Regions from separate parts of the Homo sapiens genome. Here all the other regions are linked to region 1. Evidence: promoter capture Hi-C in 16 types of primary human blood cells and fetal thymus (Javierre and others, 2016). All regions are on one chromosome and are shown on one strand. The core of a region is centred on a gene start or on the middle of the fragment in contact, and the rest is flanking DNA. Distances in the headings are between cores, read along the strand shown. Region 1 holds the start of IKBKB (inhibitor of nuclear factor kappa B kinase subunit beta). Region 2 overlaps KAT6A (lysine acetyltransferase 6A). Region 3 overlaps KAT6A (lysine acetyltransferase 6A). Region 4 overlaps KAT6A (lysine acetyltransferase 6A).

Region 1 (3,254 bases), core at 223-2,722:
TGGGGTGGCCTCCTTTCTATGACTTTCTATGAGCCCGCCTGTCCCCCTGCTATTACAATGAAGCAGATGAAACTGCTGATCTTTGTTACTGATGTTTTGGCTGTTTTCAATTTCCAAAAAATGACAATTAAATGCAATTCAACCTAATATTGCCTAAATTTTAAAAGAGGAAATAGGTTCTCACAGTGTTTAAGTAACCAGCCCCCGTGCCTCAGAGGTAGTCAACAGCAGTATCTGGATTCAAAATCCAGTTTGCCTCCTTCTGAACTTCTTAACATGCTACTTTTAGCCACGGATTAAGAACCCGGGAACCAGTTGCTAGGGTTTGAGTATCAGCTCATCTACGTAGCAGCCATGTACCTTGGAAATAATAATAATGCAGACCAGGTGCAGTGGCTCACAGCCTGTAATCTCAACACTTTGGGAAGCCCAGGCGGGTGGATCCCTTGAGCCCAGGAGTTGGAGACCAGCCTGGGCAACACAGTGAGTGAGACCCCGCCACCAGGTATGGCGGCCGCGCACCTGTAGTCAGGAGAATCACTTGAGCCCAGGAGTTGGAGGTTGCACTGAGCTGTGATCACACCACTGCACTCCAGCCTGGGTGACAGAGCGAGATAATAATAATAATGATGATGATGATGCAGTATTTTCCAATTTACAGGGTTGCCCTGAGGATTGAATAAGGAAATCTAAGTACAGAGATTTAGAACAGAGCCCTGCACTGTGTAAGCACTCTATAGATGTGAGCTATTATTATCATCTTCAGGTTCCTTTGGTAGTTTTTTTCTGCTTGAATAAAATATAGCAACACACACACACACCTCCTTTGTCCACTAATGTAATCCCATAAAACGGAGAAACTCAGCAGTGAGGACATTCTGATTCCAAGCAGGAAGGAGATGAACGATGAACCTCAGGCTGAGCGCCTCACGGTTTCCTCATGTCACCGGGGCTGGGGGTGCAGTTTGGCTTCACACTGCTAGGTCTTTTCTTGTTTTTAAGGGGGCAGGGGCTGTCACCTCTGAGGAGTCAGCTGTGATTGATCCTTCTCCACACCCAGCCAAGCACCCCCCAGACAGGGGAGCGCCCGCAGTAGGGCGGTAGGCAAGGGCAGTTCTAGCCAACAGTCCCTAAATCATCCCAGCGGGGGCGCGGGAAATTCCACCGAGGTGAAAGCCTAGGGGGCCGGGTGAAGAAATCCCCATACCCGGGCCCAGAAACCGCTCCAGGTGGAAGTAACTTGTCTAAAGAGAACAGGGTGTAACGGGGGTCATTTCAGGGCTGTTCTTTTAAATCGGTGAGCACGGTCTGTCTACTTTCCCTCAGTTGTCTAGAGACCACACGCCACCCCCGCCCCGGGGGAGTCGCCCGGTCGAGGGTCCCGGGACAGGCGCAGCACTCGCAGCATCCGGACCTGGTCTGCCTCGCGCCGGGAGCGGCCTCTTTAAGAGCGGCCGCGGCCAACGTGCTCCGTGACGTCAGAGCAGGAAGTGTTTGAGGAAGTCGCGCCGCGCTGCCCGCGTTAAGATTCCCGCATTTTAATGTTTTCAGGGGGGTGTCATAGCCCCGGGTTTGGCCGCCCCAGCCCCGCCTTCCCCGCCCCGGGGAGCCCGCCCCCTGCCCCGCGTCCCTGCCGACAGGTGAGTCCCCCTCGTGGGTGCGGCCCGGGTGCCACCTGCAGGCCCCGCCGCCCCGCTGCCTGCAAGGCCCGGAAGACCCCTCTGTGCCGCTGGGAAGTCGCAGCTTGCGGACTGGGGAGCGTTTCACTTGTGCGGGTTGGAGTTCGGGAAGCCGGGAGAAACAGCTCTCCCTGGGGTGGCTTCTTGGGGGTGGGTGGCTTTGAGGGGAACCTGCGATTTATGGGAACATTGTAAAGAAACACGTGACCTCGGCGATGCTCAGAAGTAGGTTCTGCCCCTGCCACCTCGGGCAGAAGGCGGGCAGGCCCGGGCGCCCCTGGTGGAGTCAGCTGGGGATCCCCTCGCTAGGGCAAGGGCGTGGGCATCGCCTCCCTCGGTGACTTTCTTCCTTGCCTGATGCCACAGCAACCGGATGGGGGAGGGTGAGAGGGACAAAAGTTTGCCACAAAGTTTGGACCAACCAAACACATTGGTTTCTTTACAAAATAAAAAACCAGTTGTATTTTTCTTCTCTCCCATTCAAGAGCAGTGGTATCTCTTGCCTTCTCCATCCCTTTGAGCTCCATTTTTTTCTTAATCCTAACCTTTTTTCCCCATCCCAAATTGCTTATAGAGTTAGCACGACATCAGTATGAGCTGGTCACCTTCCCTGACAACGCAGACATGTGGGGCCTGGGAAATGAAAGAGCGCCTTGGGACAGGGGGATTTGGAAATGTCATCCGATGGCACAATCAGGTAGGCCCTCTGTGCAGCTTGGGGAGGGGCGGGGAGCCAGGCCCCCTCCTCACTGCCTCCACTTTCTCTGATCCTGCTGGGCCAAGGGCTCACCTTTGGCTTTGGTCATCTTGGGACAGTGAATAGGGGGACTGGGAAGAGGGCTTCAGGACTTCTGAGCTGACTCCAGGTTAGTGGTCTCCATGCTTTATTGACTATGTCACCTAAATAAATAGTAAAATAAAGTTAAGCTCTTAGTCTCTATTATATATATATGGTAACAGTAGAATATCATGTACTAATATATACTGATATTATATGTTATAAAACATATAGAAATAGGAAAATTTAAAGGATGAGACTAAATAAATAATTTAAAATATTTTAATTCCTTGAGGCCAGTAGTTCAAGAGCAGCCTGGGCAACATAGCAAGACCTCGTCTCTACAAAAAAGGTTTAAAAATTAGGCAGCCAGCTGGGCGTGGTGGCTTATACCTGTAATCTCAGCACTTTGGGAGGCTGAGGCAGGCGGATCACGCAGTCAGGAGATGGAGACCATCCTGGCTAACACTGTGAAACCCCATCTCTACTAAAAATACAAAGAATTAGCCAGGCTTGGTGGCACGTGCCTGTAGTCCCCAGCTACTTGGGAGGCTGAGGCAGGAGAATCGCTTGAACCCATGAGGCGGAGGTTGCAGTGAGCCAAGATTGCGCTACTGCACTCCAGCCTGGGTAACAGAGTGAGACTCCGTCTCAAAAAAAAAAAAAAAAAAAAAACCTTAGGCAGCCTTGGTGCGTACCTGTAGTCCCACTACATTGGAGGCTGATGTGGGAGGATTGCTTGTCCAGGAGTTTGAGGCTGTAGTGAGCTATGATTGTGCCACTGCACTCTAGCCTAG
Region 2 (2,978 bases), core at 64-2,563, 300 kb before region 1:
GAAATAAAAAATTTAAATTCAAGAGGTGGTAGGTACTATGCAGAAAAAGCAGGCAGGTCAGGGGATAGAGTGACACAATGGGCTGTAAGCTATTTTCGTGTGGATATGAGCAAGACCTAAATGGAATGGGCAGTGAACCTACTAAATCATCGACTCTAGAGGAAGGGCCATCGAGGCAAGGTGCAGCGACTGCAAAGGCCCAAGGCAGGCATGCTTGGTGTGTCTGAGGAAGAGGAGGCGGCTGTGGCTGGAGTAGCCTGAGAGCAAAAAGAGCAGCCAAAGAGGGAGGCAGGCACAAAATCATATACAGCCTTGGAGATGAGAGAACAGACTCTTTTTTTTTTTTTTTAATTCTAAAGAAGACTGTAAGACATGAAAGGTTTTCTAAGCAAGGAAGTGGTATAATCCAACCTACGTTCAAAAATAATTACCCTGGCCGCTGTATGAAGAAAATAGACTAGAGAGTGGGGTGGTGGCAAAAGCAGAAGCAAGTTTAGTCTGGAGGCAATTATAGCAGCCTAAGCCAGAGATGACAGTGGGTTGGCAGTAGCAAATACAGACATATTCTGAAGGCAGAACCATTAGGATTTGCTGATGGACTGAATGTGAAGTATGACAGAGAAAAAAAAAATCAAGATGACATCTCTGTGGGCCTAAGCAAGTACAGGATAGAGCTACCATTTACTCTTGTTCACCACTAAAAGCCAGAATCTATGGCTACAACAGTAAGAGCCTAGAACATCTTGCTGTGGCCAGAAGTAAATAAAAATGATGATGATGTGTTAAAAGGACAGAGGAGCTTCTAGAAAGGAGTTCCCCTCTGCCTAAATTTGGAACAATTTAAGCATCAAAATAAATACTAATAGCAATGGATTATAACCATAAAATAATCTATGAGTTTAAACAAAATGAATAAACAAATAGGAAGAAGAAAAAGCTTCTCCTTACAATAGAATGCCAATTAATAAATGGCAAAGAAATGATAGAATTAGAAAATAATGTTTGGCCACCAACAAAGTAAATGATTCAGGCAAAAATCATCTCTGGATGCTAAATGTGGTAGATAAAAGTTTGATGAAAAACAGGTTATCTGCATTTCTGTCTCAAAGTATGTCCCCCCAAGATACTTAATTATAGGTAGAAAGCAATGTTAGAGAAGAAACATGGATACCACCTAAACCAGGTGGTCACTGTTAGCAGCACTTGTGATGAGAACTTGGATATTACATGCCTTCTGATGTGACACACTGAGGAGGACACAGCACACCTGTGGAATTTTCTAATCATGAAAAATAAAACAAGCTCAAAGTGATGACATTCTATAAATGACCTGTGCACTTCAAAACTGTCAAGGTCATGAAAGATAAAGACTGAGGAACTGTTCCCAATTGGAAGGAGACTAGAGAGACGTGACAACTAAATTAGATAATAGTACTTAATTTGTGTTAAATTCCTGATTTGATGATTGGACCATGGTCATGTATGAGAACATTTCTGTTTTTAGGAAATACACACAAAAAATTAGGAGTAAAGGGATATTAACACATTATGTCTGCAACTTACTCGGGAGGAGAAAAAAAAATTCTTTCAGTCAGGAAGAACATAACTACTGCCTCCTTTCAGTTCCCACTGAAGTCCATGTAGATTTCTACTAGAGTACCTATAATAACTCACTAGCATGAAAGGAAACAAGCTTTGAGGGCAACCTGCCCAAAGGAGAAGTTAGTAAATGACAGATCAAGACTTGAACCCAGATCCACCTGAATCAAAGCCAATATTTTGTTAAATCATAATACAGCAGAATGCTGAGTAAATGCGTGCTGAGTATTTGTACTGCTGTTTTATTTTTCCAAAAGTACTCACATAATGACCGACATCAACAGTCTATTCACCACCACTGGGTCTCTTAATATGAAGAGTTTTCCCTAGAACCCTCGGCATCAGCCTTAGAATTTTTTTTTTTTTTTGAGATGGAGTCTCACTCTGTTGCCCAGGCTGGAGTGGTGTGGCACGATCTCGGCTCACTGCAACCTCCACCTCCCGGATTCAAGTGATTCTTCTGCCTCAGCCTCCCGAGTAGCTGGGACCACAGGCGTGTGCCACCGGCTAATTTTTGTATTTTTAGTAGAGACGGGGTTTCACCATGCTGGCCAGGCTGGTCTCGAATTCCTGACCTCAAGTGATCCACCCGCCTCGGCCTCCCAATGTGCTGGGATTACAGGGGTGAGCCACCGTGCCCAGCCTAGAAATTCTTCTTTTCAAGATAAAAGAGAACTTGGCTTACATGGTACATTTGTTGGTGGCAAAGAAGGAAAAGACAAAAAATAAATGAACATAATCTGGAAGAGCCTTTATGATCTAGCCCCTGCACTTTTCCAACCTCACCTCCTGCCATTCTCCACACCCTATATTCTTTATCCTGAGCCATTTTAATTCCCACAATTAAGCATGTTTTCCCCTATCTTCAAGTCTATTCCACCTTCACTTCTGTTCCTTCTGATTATATAAGAACCAACTCCCTACATATCCCTTTAAGGGATATGTACAACTCCTACATATCCTTTAAGGCCCCTCAATGAATCCTCCTCTGACCTCCCCAGGCAGAAGTAGAAGCTGGCTTCCCTATTCTCCCAAAACATCAAGTATTCTATAATTGAACTTTTCATATTAATGACATTACTTATTCACAAATCTCTCCTATAGTTCAGGGAAAGAATTCAGTCATTCACTGGCATCTCCAGCATGTGGCACATAGACTCTGTCTATATATTTACGATCTTGCCATGTGTCACAAAGAATTGCAATTTTTTTTTTTTTGGAAGACAGGGTCTCACTCTGTCACCCAGGCTGGAGTACAGTGGCATGATCTCAGGTCACTGCAACCTCCATTTCCCCAGCTCAAGCAATTCTCCTGCCTCAGCCTCCTAAATAGCTGTGACTACAGGTGTGCACCAACATACCTGGCTAATTTTTCTATT
Region 3 (3,324 bases), core at 799-3,298, 280 kb before region 1:
CCAGGTCACTCTCATTCCCAAACTATTAATGAGCATGAAAACCAGTGAGGTAGGGCTAAAACTATATTGGGTTCACCATAAGATTTGAATCTGAAATGCACTAAGGTGGTTATAGGAAAAATAGAAGAGATATTCAAAGCATTTTCCAAGAAAAACTCTACAAGCTGATTTCAATTGCTCTGTATCACAAAGACAAAAACTACTGATAATCAGTGAAAAAATCTGTGCAGAGACAGAAAATATGCCATATATTTCTCTCAGACCTATCCAAGCTTCTTTCTTATACCTTATTGTTCCCATGATCTATATAAAGTAAACCTGTTCCTACAACTAATAAAAGAAAAAAGGTTGTAGCAAATGACTTTACACACCATTAAACACAGCAGCCACAGTGAATCTGTTAAAAGGTAAATCAAAGCATGTCATTCAGCTGCCCCCAACTCTCCAGTCCAATTGCTTCCATCTCAGATTAAATGCCACATGAACTACAAGGTACTGTGTGATCTGTACTCCCCTGCTTTCCCCCTCAGTTACCTGCCTGACCTCATCTTCTATTGCTCTCTCCCTCTACACTCCACTCCAGCTTCCTTGCTTAGGTTTTCAAGGCAGTGGTTACAGGCACAGGGCCTTTGCATTTGCTTTCCTTCTATATCTAGAATGTTCGTCCCAAGATCTTTCAGATCTCTACTCAGGAAGTCACCTTCTCAGTAAGGCTTTTTTTGAACACCCCATCTAGCATTTCAAAGCAACCCACCAACCCCAATAATTCACAAGTTCCTTCCCTGCTTTGTTTTTTCCCCTTAACCCTTTTCACTAATTAACATGTGTGTATGTATATCTTATTATTTATTCTTAACTAAATGTAACTTCTATGAAGACTCTGATTTTCACCTGTTTTTTAGGACCATATTCTTACTACTAAAAGCAATGCCTAGGCTGGGCACGGTGGCTCACACCTGTAATCCCAGCACTTTGGGAGGCTGAGGCAGGTGGATCACGAGGTCAGGAGTTCAAGAGCAGCCTGGCCAACGTGGTGAAACCCCGTCTCTATTAAAAATACAAAAATTAGCCAGGCATGGTGGCAGGCACCTGTAATCCCAGCTACTCAAAAGGCTGACGCAGGAGAATCGCTTGGACCCAGGAGGCAGAGGTTGCAGTGAGCCAAGAACGTGCTACTGCACTCCAGCCTGGGCAACAAGAGCGAGACTCCATCTCAAAAAAAAAATAAAAATAAAAATAAAAACAATGCCTAGTATATAGAAGTCACTCAATAAGTATTACTGAATAATTAATTGAATTACCTTGTAGAACTAGATATAATAAGAGTACCTTACATAGAAAGAACAATGAGTTGGGTATGAGCCTGATAAAAAGCCATGTGTAGTGCAGTAATAATCACAGCAGTACAGAAATGCTCTATTGTTTACAAAGCAATCTCACAAAGTGATTTCATGGCCATAACTAAGTAAGATTTCTGCCATAGCAACTCAAAAGCAGAGGGAGATTTGAGGCAGAGGGCACCAATATTGTGTACCTTGTGTCGTCGGTTGCCCTACATCTCCTTTAAGCACCCTGTTGAGATCTCTATAATAATCACCAGATGGCAGTATTGAGGCAAACACAGGGTGGATGATTCGGTAACAAGCAGGCATTCTGACTTGAACTTTTAAAAACAGGAACAGTAAAAATTTTGCCCAATGCTCTCTGTTGAAGTTTATACCATGAAATAATTTTTAATCATAACCATTTAGAATATCTTAAATAATGACATTTTCTAGATACACAGATATATCATCTGAGATATTCCCATCTAAAAAGTCCAATTTTCATTTCTTTTTTTTTTTTTTTTTTTGAGATGGAGTTTTGCTCTTGTTGCCCAGGCGGGAGTGCAATGAGGTGATCTCAGCTCACTGCAACCTCCATCTCCTGGTTCAAGTGATTCTCTTGCCTCAGCCTCTCGAGTAGCTGGGATTACAGGCATGTGCCACCACACCCAGCTAATTTTGTATCTTTAGTTGAGACGGGGGTTTCACTAGGTTGGTCAGGCTGGTCTCGAACTCTTAACCACAGGTGATTCACCCACCTTGGCCTCCCAGACTGCTGGGATTACAGGAGTGAGCCACCACGCCCGGTCCCAATTTTCATTTCTTTCCCCCAATACTGTCTTTAATTTTTTAAAGGCCATAAACCTTATCTCTATTTTCTAATATCTTCTGAGGCACTCAAATCTAACTTTATTTTGTCTCTATTCTTAAACACTGACAAAAAGAACAGTCAAGAACCTGTTTTATTATATGCAATTATTTCTAGTTAAGACTGAATTGAATGATAAATTCTATAATTTGTCACCACTGAAATTTTCATGGAAAAAAACTGCACTTGTAAACTCAAACTCATAACTTTGGAAACCTCTAAGAGATCACTTAATAAGCAATCAGGCAATACAGGTATGTGGTTTCTAAAAGCTACAAAATTTCTCAAGTTTTACAGCCACTGGAAATTACTGAGACACACTGGCATATCCAATTAAAAGAGTATGGAAGAAGTACACATATAATTCATGTAATACTCCCTATAACACTCAAACATGCACTAAGCAACAAAAAAGGATAATGAGCACATCCTACCATAGATTTAAATACAAAACATCTATAAAGTATCTATGGTTTCAATGTCCCCTCCAAGTCTGGTGTTGTTAAGAGGTGGGGGCTTTCGGAAGGTAATTGGGCCATGAGGGCTCCACCCTCATGACTAGATTAATGCTGTTATCAGGGGAGTGGGCTAGTTATCGTTGGAATTTGGCCCCCTTTTCCTCTCTGTCTTGCGTGCTCGCTTCTGTCTTCTGCCCTTATGCCATGTTATAGCACTGCAAGAAGGCCCTCACAGAGAGATGAGGCCCCTTGATCTTAGACTTCTCAGTCTCCAAAACTATGAACCAAATAAACATATTTTCTTTATAAATTACCCAGTGTGTAGCATTCTGTTACAACAGCAGAAAACAGACTAAGGCATACACAAAACTTATGTTCAACTATAATTATTGCAACTCGTTTCTTTAAAATCTAGTAGTGTACCACAAAAGGACATATATTATATATTATATGATTCCATTTATATGAGGTACCTAGAATAGACAAATTCATAGAGACAGAAAATAAAACAGGTTACCAAAGGCCATGGGAAGTGGAGAATGGGAAGTTATTGTTTAATGGATACAGAGTCTGTTTGAGATGATGGAAACGTTCTGAATGGATGGAAAAGAAATTGATGGTATCACGACAGTGTGAATGTACTTAATGCCACTGAATTATACACTTAAATAGT
Region 4 (3,258 bases), core at 604-3,103, 320 kb before region 1:
TCAAACTCCCGACCTCATGATCTGCCCACTTTGGCCTCCCAAAGTGTTGGGATTACAGGAGTGAGCCACCACACCCGGCCCACAGTACTTCCTTATTAGCTCTAATTGAAGTAGTTATACAATGTTTTTAGTATTATTAGTATTACTGCATGAAACTGAGTTCCATTGTAAATGAACAATAGGAAATTAAAGGTATGTGCTACACATCACACAAAATTTTATTCAATATTAGCTGTTTAAAAATATTTCGTGTCCAAGGCCACGCATGGTGGCTCACGCCTGTAATCCCAGTACTTTGGGAGGCCAAGGCGGGTGGATCACGAGGTCAGGAGATCGAGACCATCCTGGCTAACACGGTAAAACCCCGTCTCTAGTAAAAATACAAAAAAATTAGCCGGGTTGTGGTGGCTGGTGCCTGTAGTCCCAGCTACTCGGGAGGCTGAGGCAGAAGAATAGCCTGAACCCAGGAGGCAGAGCTTGCAGTGAGCCGAGATCACGCCACTGCACTCCAGCCTGGGTGACAGAGCGAGACTCTGTCTCTCAAAAAAAAAAAAAAAAATTCGTGTCCAACCAAAATAAAAGGAACGTGTGGCTTTAGGTTTTATTTATTTCCATTTTTATTTTGAGACAGAGTCTTGCTCTGTGGCCCAGGCTAGGGCCTGCAATGCAGGGGTAGCATTGCTCACTGCAGCTTCAACCTCCTGGGCACTCAAGTGATCCTCTCACCTCTGCTTCCTGAGTAGGTGGAACCCTAGGTACATGCCATCATGCCCACCTAACTTTTTAAATTTTTTGTAGAGACAGGGTCTTGCCATGTTGCCTAAGCTGGTCTTGAACTACTGGGCTCAAGCAATCCTCCCACCCCAGTTTCCCAAAGTGCTGGGATTAGAGGTATGAGCCACAGTGTCCAGCAGTGGCTTTAGGTTTTAAAGAATCATATAGCTATATGACAAAAGATACTAGCAGCCAACAAAGCACCTACAAATCTTTAAATATATATATATACACACACACACACACACACACACACACACACACACACACACACACACAGAGAAGGTCCACTGGAAAAGACCAATGAGAAATTAATATAATCCTTACTGAAATCGATGAGAAACCTGCCATAGCCCTTACGCTGGTATTGAGGAAGAATCATTATACAGGAAACATTGTACTTCTGTTGGCAGTGCTTTTCCTGGTGGAGAAAACACAAGTCAAGTTTGAAAACAGGCTGGTAAAAGTGAATAATAACGTGAATTAAGAAACAAAGACTAATGGCCAAAACCCACAGCCCTGGTCCTTTGGGAATAGCAACGTACATCAACAAACAACTACCCAGCTGGGAGAAGATAGGATAATGTCAAGTCACTGCCATTACCCACAAAGCAACCATCCCAGGAGAGTAAAAATATATAACAAAACAATGCCATCCAACACCATCTGCAACTCAAACACAGTACGCCAATGCCTAAGGATCAGCACCGGAATCTGAGTCCCAAACAATCCGTAAAGCTACAAATGATGAATCAGTGTGCCACTCTAGAAGTGAGAAGACTCATTAATTATGTCAGAGTTTTCTTTCTCTCCTGCTCTGGTGCTCCTCAGAGCAGTCCTATTAGTTGTATCTAACTTTACACAAAATAGTCACTTTTATAATTTTATAAATGAGTGAATATATTTTAAGTCACATCTAACTAATGAAGTAGCCTAAAGAATTCTTATAAATGCTTATAAAAAGCTAGTACTTCCCCTAACTGTTTTATACACTTGGATTTTACCACAGGCTTGCTTAAATAAAAGTATATCTTTTATGTTCTCTGACTAGAAATAAACTTTCTCCCTCTAAGGGAATGGAAGATTAAAAAAGGAGAAAATATCCTTTAACCAAAATGCCTTCTTACTCTTATTTCTATGCCTAAAGTTCAAATAAGGAAGAGAAGATTGAAGCTGAGACAGAACTCAGAGAGCTAATGACTGTTTATTTCAGAAGTTCCATGTTATTACCATGGGAAGAGAAGCCATTTAAAACCTTCCCCGTGAGTATTGCCAGCAGTCCATAATCCTAGGAGAATATAGGTTGTTGAATGTTACTAAGCACCTTCTAGCACCTGGTAAGTTTCCAAATGTTCCTTCTATTCTTTCCAAACAGCTAGATGACACCTAGGAGGTGCTGCATCTTGTTGTGTCCCCGAGTGAGAACCAGCAAAGATTCTTTCAGATTTCTATATGAGTTCAAACAAACTTTAAGCTGACATACTTACCTTAGAAAAGTAGCCAACAAGGTGGCAGCCCTTGACATCATTCTGTGTTAGTACATAAAAAAGAAATGGCTCCACATCGTAATAGAGGGTTTTGTGGTCAAGAAACAACTTTGCCAAAAGACACAGGTTTTGACAATAAATGGTACTCACATTCCCATCAACCTAGAGAAATAAACAGAACAAAACAGTCAGTAGAGGGTCTCTTTAGTTCTAGAATAATATGTATCAGTTAAAAGCATCTCTAGATATCCACAGTCCAGACTAGGAGAAGGTGTCCATGACCAGAACACTTTGGAACCTGGAAGCCATCCTTTGAAATGGCAGTATTATGCTATCTGCTGTTTTAAGACAACCAAATATATAAAACCTCATACCTTCAACATAGCAGGAACAGCCAGATAAGGAAGTGATAATCTGGTTTTAAAAGAGCAATTTTTGCTTTAATAAAAAGATGAATTGTAGCAATCCTTTAGATAGCAAGTTTCGTTTTCAAAGTACTTAACACAACAAAAGATCTAAATACAACCCTTCTAAAATACATTTATTAGGTAAAAGAAGATGTAACTATGTAGTCTAATCTATGCCAGCTGCCTGAAGCAATGCAATCTGACTACCATGATCGGGCTTGAACCCAGATAAAACTACTTAAGGGGGTACTAACTATTGCCACGCAGAAGCACCAAGCGGGTTCCTCAAGCAATCATGTGGTAAATGAGGCTCCAGGTTGGCCAGGCCCAGGAGCACTCTGCTGCTCTTTTGCTCCTGGCAGCCTTGTCTGTGTTCATGGAGTTGCCAGAGCTTTCTATCAAAACGCCAATGGATGCCCACATTAGCTCCCAAGACACTGTCTGCGATACTAACAGAACTCCTCAACAACCCAGGTAGTTTAATATTCTCTTCAAACAGTATATACCACACCTACCCCAGCTTCTCCCAAGGTAAAGAACTCCTCTACTGATCACTTAAAAGAGTCTTAGGGAGGACCAAGAAAAGTGAG

What was found. The method cuts DNA at HindIII sites, captures the fragments that hold promoters and counts their contacts. A CHiCAGO score of 5 or more calls a contact.
Region 2: a fragment that was not itself captured here is called in contact with the fragment with the promoter of IKBKB in region 1 in 2 of 17 cell types (neutrophils and total B cells); the score reaches 7.0 in neutrophils.
Region 3: a fragment that was not itself captured here is called in contact with the fragment with the promoter of IKBKB in region 1 in 4 of 17 cell types (naive CD8 T cells, activated CD4 T cells, naive CD4 T cells and 1 more); the score reaches 5.9 in naive CD8 T cells.
Region 4: a fragment that was not itself captured here is called in contact with the fragment with the promoter of IKBKB in region 1 in 1 of 17 cell types (non-activated CD4 T cells); the score reaches 5.3 in non-activated CD4 T cells.

What each region holds. Positions count from the first base shown.
Region 1 is chr8:42,269,830-42,273,083 of GRCh38, forward strand. It overlaps IKBKB (inhibitor of nuclear factor kappa B kinase subunit beta), which reads left to right and starts at 1,473. Exons shown (of 22, transcript NM_001556.3): 1 at 1,473-1,640; 2 at 2,254-2,376. The coding sequence starts at 2,272. IKBKB-DT (IKBKB divergent transcript) reads right to left here and starts at 1,421. Exons shown (of 4, transcript NR_185843.2): 1 at 822-1,421. RefSeq lists an enhancer at 468-967 and a silencer at 1,464-1,753. The HindIII fragment of the contact is 12,915 bases long and covers 1-3,254 here.
Region 2 is chr8:41,971,277-41,974,254 of GRCh38, forward strand. The region is part of intron 8 of KAT6A (lysine acetyltransferase 6A); the gene reads right to left. Among named protein-coding and RNA genes, the nearest start is that of KAT6A-AS1, 79 kb to the right of the region's middle. The HindIII fragment of the contact is 756 bases long and covers 936-1,691 here.
Region 3 is chr8:41,993,842-41,997,165 of GRCh38, forward strand. All of the region lies in intron 2 of KAT6A (lysine acetyltransferase 6A), which reads right to left. Among named protein-coding and RNA genes, the nearest start is that of KAT6A-AS1, 56 kb to the right of the region's middle. The HindIII fragment of the contact is 3,556 bases long and covers 271-3,324 here.
Region 4 is chr8:41,945,490-41,948,747 of GRCh38, forward strand. KAT6A (lysine acetyltransferase 6A) reads right to left here. Exons shown (of 17, transcript NM_006766.5): 11 at 2,262-2,423; 12 at 1,102-1,195. Among named protein-coding and RNA genes, the nearest start is that of KAT6A-AS1, 100 kb to the right of the region's middle. The HindIII fragment of the contact is 4,864 bases long and covers 1-3,258 here.